Linked DNA regions of Homo sapiens: region 1 is linked to region 2. Evidence: promoter capture Hi-C in 16 types of primary human blood cells and fetal thymus (Javierre and others, 2016). All regions are on one chromosome and are shown on one strand. Each heading gives the region's core, a stretch centred on a gene start or on the middle of the fragment in contact. The rest is flanking DNA. Distances are from core to core; before and after follow the strand shown.

The links. The method cuts DNA at HindIII sites, captures the fragments that hold promoters and counts their contacts. A CHiCAGO score of 5 or more calls a contact.
Region 1: a fragment that was not itself captured here is called in contact with the fragment with the promoter of AP1G2 in region 2 in 7 of 17 cell types (megakaryocytes, activated CD4 T cells, naive CD4 T cells and 4 more); the score reaches 6.4 in megakaryocytes.

Annotation. Positions count from the first base shown.
Region 1 is chr14:23,481,740-23,484,795 of GRCh38, reverse strand. No RefSeq gene overlaps it. Among named protein-coding and RNA genes, the nearest start is that of NGDN, 14 kb to the right of the region's middle. RefSeq lists enhancers at 1,211-1,967, 1,968-2,725. The HindIII fragment of the contact is 5,436 bases long and covers 1-3,056 here.
Region 2 is chr14:23,566,158-23,569,098 of GRCh38, reverse strand. It overlaps AP1G2 (adaptor related protein complex 1 subunit gamma 2), which reads left to right and starts at 1,308. Exons shown (of 22, transcript NM_003917.5): 1 at 1,308-1,360; 2 at 1,780-1,988; 3 at 2,413-2,537; 4 at 2,680-2,821; 5 at 2,939-2,941. The coding sequence starts at 1,785. It overlaps JPH4 (junctophilin 4), which reads left to right. Exons shown (of 6, transcript NM_001146028.2): 6 at 1-1,061. It overlaps AP1G2-AS1 (AP1G2 antisense RNA 1), which reads right to left. Exons shown (of 4, transcript NR_110555.1): 3 at 1,677-2,941; 4 at 1,023-1,410. RefSeq lists silencers at 117-216, 1,206-1,255 and enhancers at 1,736-1,975, 2,006-2,095. The HindIII fragment of the contact is 3,957 bases long and covers 1-1,807 here.

The DNA of each region.
Region 1 (3,056 bases), core at 381-2,880, 85 kb after region 2:
TGCTTTTCACTGTGGCTCTGGCAAACTCTGCCTCTCCCCATAGTCCAGGAGTCAGTCTTGACTTACACATGCTGAGGAAATGGAAGCCAGCCATTCTAGGACTGCCACTTAAGCTAAGGAAGATCTCCTCCCACCAGGGAATCAAGGAAAGAGGTCCATATTGTGGCCTATTCCTAGTATATACAGAAGTCAGACTCAGCACTACCATCCAGGGAGTAACTGGATGCTACTAATTCATAAAGAATAATCCAATAAGAGAAAAATTAGCCATCCTAGAAATTGGATAACTTTACAATAAAAAACACTGCTGAATTAGCTGGTTGTGGGGTACTGGTCTCACAATGAAAGGTCTCCAAAATAAAGTTAAGAAGCGAGATGAGGCAAGAGCTAACAGTCTAAAGAGTTTGGGCATATTCTGGAAAGGCTAAGCAATACAGGGCACTGTGGGCTGAATGGGGCAACCAGGTAAATTCAGCTGTGATAAAGGAACAACATGGAATGACAAAAAAAGGAGGCAGACTACAAGAGTGAGCCAAGGTCCTGCAGCCAGAATTGTGCTCAGCAGTGACCAGAGAGCCAGGATGTCCATCACATAAGTGTCACAACTGTCCTGGAAAGAACCTTCTGAGGACACAAAAGATCAGTAACAGGACATCTCCTCCAGTCTTCAAAACACAGGATAACGAAAGTAGAGGTATCCTTAGCAATCTAATCCAAAAGTTTCTGGATGAGCCATTATTATCTGAATTCTTGCTATTCCCTAGCTCCCATTTTCCCAGCATGTAGAACCCAAATCTGTAGATTCAGATAACACAGGATCGATCGCTTGCCAAGTGAACTCTCCTTATCCAAATCCAGGAACTGAATAGATGCAGACAGCAAAGGATATCTTCTGTCTCCCATCATGTTTCCCCTGTAGAGCCTCGTCATTCTCCCACCTACTCTTCGGTACTGACCCCTCAGTTCTCCTCACCCTGTTCTCTTCTAAGCCACCCTCATCTACAGCCCCCTTTCATTGGGAGAGTCATCTGTAAGATGTCAGGGGTAGAACAGATAACGAAAAAGGGAGTAGGGAAGAGTGTAGATTTCAGGTAGGGAAGTGAGATGGAGATCCTGCAGACAGAGAAAGAGAGAGACAGAAAGCAAGAGAGCCGGAGCTGGGGGAGGGGAAGAAGATGGCACTGCGGAAAAAAGAGCGCCACAAAATTAATTTGAGGAAGGGAACAGTAGAGGAGACGTTGGTGGAATAACAATCAGGCAGTAGAGGGCTGGGGAAAGGGGGAGGGCGACAGGGTGGGGAGGAATGATGTTGGCCGGGAGGGCCCTGCCTGCAGAGCAACAGCAGCACCACCTATGGGTATGGTGAAGGGCTACAGGCTGCAACAAAAGAGGTTCCCGCCTAGGCATGGGAGTCTGGGGTGCAGGTGGGGAGGAAGAAGCCATGGCTTTTGCCATTCAAATCTCTTGGTTACACAACATGCAGGCTAGAAGAATAAATAGTATATGGCTTTCCTGGGAAGAGAGGGACTTAAGGTAAGGGAGGGAAGACAGAGAACTCCTGGCTTTTTCCATTACAAGGGGGTTTCCCCTTCAGAATTCAGGCAGTAGAAAAGAGAAGAATATGAAGAGGGAGGAACACCAGGTACTGAAAGGAATGTGAGCACCTGCTTATTTCATTACCTGGAGAAAGGATTTTTATCTTTATTTCCAAGTGATTTCCTCTCCCCACTGGATATAAGAGAATACAGCTGCCTCCCTGGGGCCATGAATGCCCCTCACTCAGCTGCTTCCTCCCAGCACTGCCTCAAAACTCCCAACCACCATTAGAAACCCCCAGGGAGCCACCAAGGTCTAAGAAGGAAAGAAGGGAAGGGTTCCCCCCACCAAACAGACCAAGTGGGGGAGGACAGGGTGGAATGAAAGAGAGAATGCAAAAGCTCTGCAGAGGGAGGGGAGAGAGAAATGTGATCAGTAGTATTTGTTGTGCTTCCAGGGAGGAAGGATCTGTCACATTTTTAATAATAATAAATACATGAAGACAGATTTGCCAGCACTGCTCTGGCTTCTTGGGAAGTGTGGGGGAGGGGAAGTAATGCAGCTGCAGCACACACCAATATCTCCCCCTCCCCTCCCCCATTAGATAGGCTCAGTATTGCAGCAGCCTCCCCCTCCCCCTCTAACCGCAGTCCTCCCCTTCACAGCCCACCCTTTCCACGGTCCCGTCACACAGTTCTGCCCCTCCTTCCCCTACTTGTATCTCTACTCACTCCAACCCCACTCTGTCCTTTCAGTGCTGGTCCTCATTTAACACATGCTTACTCTAGCTGGAAGAAACCTTAGCACCTACATCTTAGATGAATGAATCTGTTCCCCCAATCCTGAGGCTCTGCTGTTTCCAATCAGTGCCCTTCACTAGCTGACAGCAATCTTCCCCTACACCCCACACAACACTCCCACAGATGTAATCCAGCACATTTCAGCATTTCCTGGATTCCACCAAAAAGGATTGCTTTTCTCCCCGTTTTAATCTCAATGTGACCTCCTTTCTCACATCCTTCCTTAAATATAATGGCCATCAAATGTGTTTGTGTTTAGGGGGTGTCAGGGCCTCAGGACTCAGTGACTACTGCCACCTATTGACCCAAGTTTGTTCACGATAGACCTTTAATACACTTCTTACACAGCGACGCTCTGTCATCTCAAAAGCATCAATAGCTTAAACATGCAAAGGCATGGCTCTGGGGGCTTCTCTGAGACCCTCTGAACAATGAGATCAAAGAAACACAAAAGCAAGACTGGGCAGAGAGCCAGAGCATTGATGCCTTTCCTCATGCAGAGGCAGAAAACGAGGCCCAAGGAATGAAAAAGCAACTTTAAGTCCCCTCAAGGTTCTCTAAGCAAAGATGAGTAGGGAACAGAGTTTTTCTTAAGGGCTGGTAAAAATTTCATGTATCATAATATAAATGATAAATGATGTTACCAATGGAGCAGGAGGCAGGATTCCACTCACATACCTCCATCAAGTTAGCCAAATCCTTGGCATGAATCTGGGATTT
Region 2 (2,941 bases), core at 59-2,558:
AGGAGGTGCATCCTCCACCTCTAATCTTGGAGGCTATTATCTTACCTCCAAGCACTGAGCTGGGTTACTGCCCAATTCCATCCTTCCCTGAAGGAGAGAAGGGAAGTGAAAAGTAGAGTAACTCCCCAGCATTTCCCTCTTTTTCTCCTCATCGGCCAGCCCCTCCTCCAGCCCCCTCTGGTGGCATGCCATGCCAAGAGCAACGTGTAAAGGAACAGAGAATATCCAATGCAGTCAAGTCCACCCTGCCCAGACTTTGCCACTGACTTCTCCCACCCTTCTGTCTCCCCCATAATAGTTTATTTGGTTGGTCTGGACTCACTTGTGGCCTTTGATTAAATTCCTAAGGGGCCTGAAGAAGACATTTCTACTGCAGAGGGTTAGAGGCACTTGAGCAAGGCCCCCACATCCCAACTCTGGGAGTTGTGGTGGGAGGAGGCACTTCTGGGGGATAGGACCAGACAAGATAACAGGAGCTCACATGGAAGCAGAAGCTGTGACAAGTTTAGTAGTCCCAAAATGGGTTATATCCCTTCCCCCTTTACATCAGAATCTTGTGAAATGGGAAAACAACAGAAGGAGGGGATCAAAGATAGCTGATCTCACATGCTTCCCAGGCAGGGCAGAGGTGGGAGTCAAACCCGGGTGACAGGTGGGTGGAGAGCCCTGTTTGAGGTTGTGGCTGATCCCTCTCTGGTATTAGTTTTTCCCCTGGGAGCAGGAAGCCCTAGGAAGAGGGGACTGCAGGGTCCCCAGGGGATCTTTCCTCCCTCCCCTGCATGAGGCAGAGGCAAGCTGCCTGCCAACCCCCTCCCTCAAGGAATGGCCTTGCCCAGGAATGCCCACCACACATACCCTCTTCTTTTTTTCTAGTCAAACTCTTGTTTATTCCTTGGCTTGCCTCCCTCCTTCCTCCCCTCTCAACCTTTACTTCTGATTTCTATTTCATGGAATTTGGGATTGAAGTTAAACTACAACAGTGCCGCCAACACCAAGTCTTGCAGGAAAAAAATACAAAGAAATTTAACAAAAAAAATATATTAATAAAAAAGTTCAAAAAAGGGGGGGGATTGTCATCTCCTTTGGGGTGCGATGGCTTCAAATCCAAACTGAGGCTCTCCGGGTGGTAAGGATGTGCGAGGAGGCCTCTTGAAGAACTCCAGGCCTATCATGCTGTCTCTCCGCTAAAGCCTGAGGCCCGAGGTCAGAGGATTCAGGAAGGCTCTGCAGTCGGCCCAGGAGGGCGGGGTCCCGTGGTGGAGGCGGGGAGAGGGAAGGACCGCACGGAGCACCAACCCCTGCTCGGCCCCGTACCAGGAAGCGCTGGGGGGCAGAGGAGCGGAGTTGAGGCAGAAGCCAGGTGAGGCTGGAGTCCTGGGGTAGGCAGGCTGTCGCTGCCGCTGCCGCTGCCTGAGATGGAAATCGGGGGAGGAAGCTCGCGGAAGAAACAGCGGAGGGTCGTGGAAAAAAAAGCAATGGCTGAGCTAGGGATGGGGTACCAGGTAGGGGGAGGAAACGGTAGAGAGAAATAGGTGGGGCTCCCGCGCATGCTCAATAGGAAGGGGCGCCGGTGGGGTGCGGACGCATGCGTAGTGGGCTTCTCGGGCGGTGGGGTGGGCGCGGAATTTGGAGACCCACTTCGGGAAAGGTAAAATGCGGGCGCAATTTTAGGGTACCTGTGGGACCCGGGCTCTTAGGGTCTTGACACAGGACGGGCCTGGGCCGAAAGCCCAGGCACGCCCGACCAGAGAGTGTTTCTCCACTCCCGGACTCTGCCAGTCAGGATGGTGGTGCCTTCGCTGAAGCTTCAGGACCTCATCGAAGAGATTCGCGGGGCCAAGACTCAGGCCCAGGAGCGGGAGGTGATCCAAAAGGAGTGTGCCCACATCCGGGCCTCCTTCCGCGACGGGGACCCAGTGCACAGGCACCGGCAGCTGGCCAAACTGCTCTACGTCCACATGTTGGGCTACCCCGCCCACTTTGGACAGGTACTGGCCAGGAATACCTCCCTCCTGAGCTTGATGAAGGCTAGTGGGGCAGAGTCCCAGACTCTCTCACCTGTTTATGCCCTGGTTTTTTAAATTCTACAATTTCAGAGTCTTCACAGCCTGCACTGCAAACCTCTTTCCCCATTGCTACCCCTACTGGTCATCAGCTGGCCTGAACCCTTCATTCTCTGGCCAGCCTCCTTTAGGGCAGGCATCTCCTCCTCTCCGCTCCCATCCTCCTCAACTCCTAGTTCCTCCTACCCACTAACGCCTGAATTTCCTAAGCTTCTCCTCTTGTTGAAGGGAGAGTGATGAGATATGATGCCCCACAGGTTAATCTGGTTTTAAAGAGGAAGATGGAACAGGGATGTGAGTGTCTATGGTTTCACCCCTGCCTCTTCCTGGTCTGCCCCCTTCACTATAGATGGAGTGCCTGAAACTGATCGCCTCCTCCAGATTCACAGACAAGAGGGTGGGCTACCTGGGGGCCATGCTTCTATTGGATGAGAGGCACGATGCCCACCTGCTCATTACCAACAGCATCAAGAAGTGAGAGGGTTCTGGCAATCACTTGGAATCAGGGAGATGGGAGAGTAGGGACCTTGGAAATCCCAGGGGACTGCCTGTTGTGGGTATTGAAAAGGACTGATTTTCTCAGAGGTTTGACTGACCGTCCTCCCAAACCCTGCAGTGACCTGAGCCAGGGGATTCAGCCAGTACAAGGCCTGGCCTTGTGCACTTTGAGCACCATGGGCTCTGCTGAGATGTGCCGAGACCTGGCCCCAGAGGTGGAGAAACTGCTCCTGCAGCCCAGTCCCTACGTGCGCAAGAAGGTGAGATGGCGGGACTCCTGGCACGTGCTCCTGCACACTGCCTGCTGCGTGCTATATAGTAGTAGATGCAGGGGTCCATCTCCTCTGACCCCTGTCTGAGGCCCCTGACCTCTGCAGGCT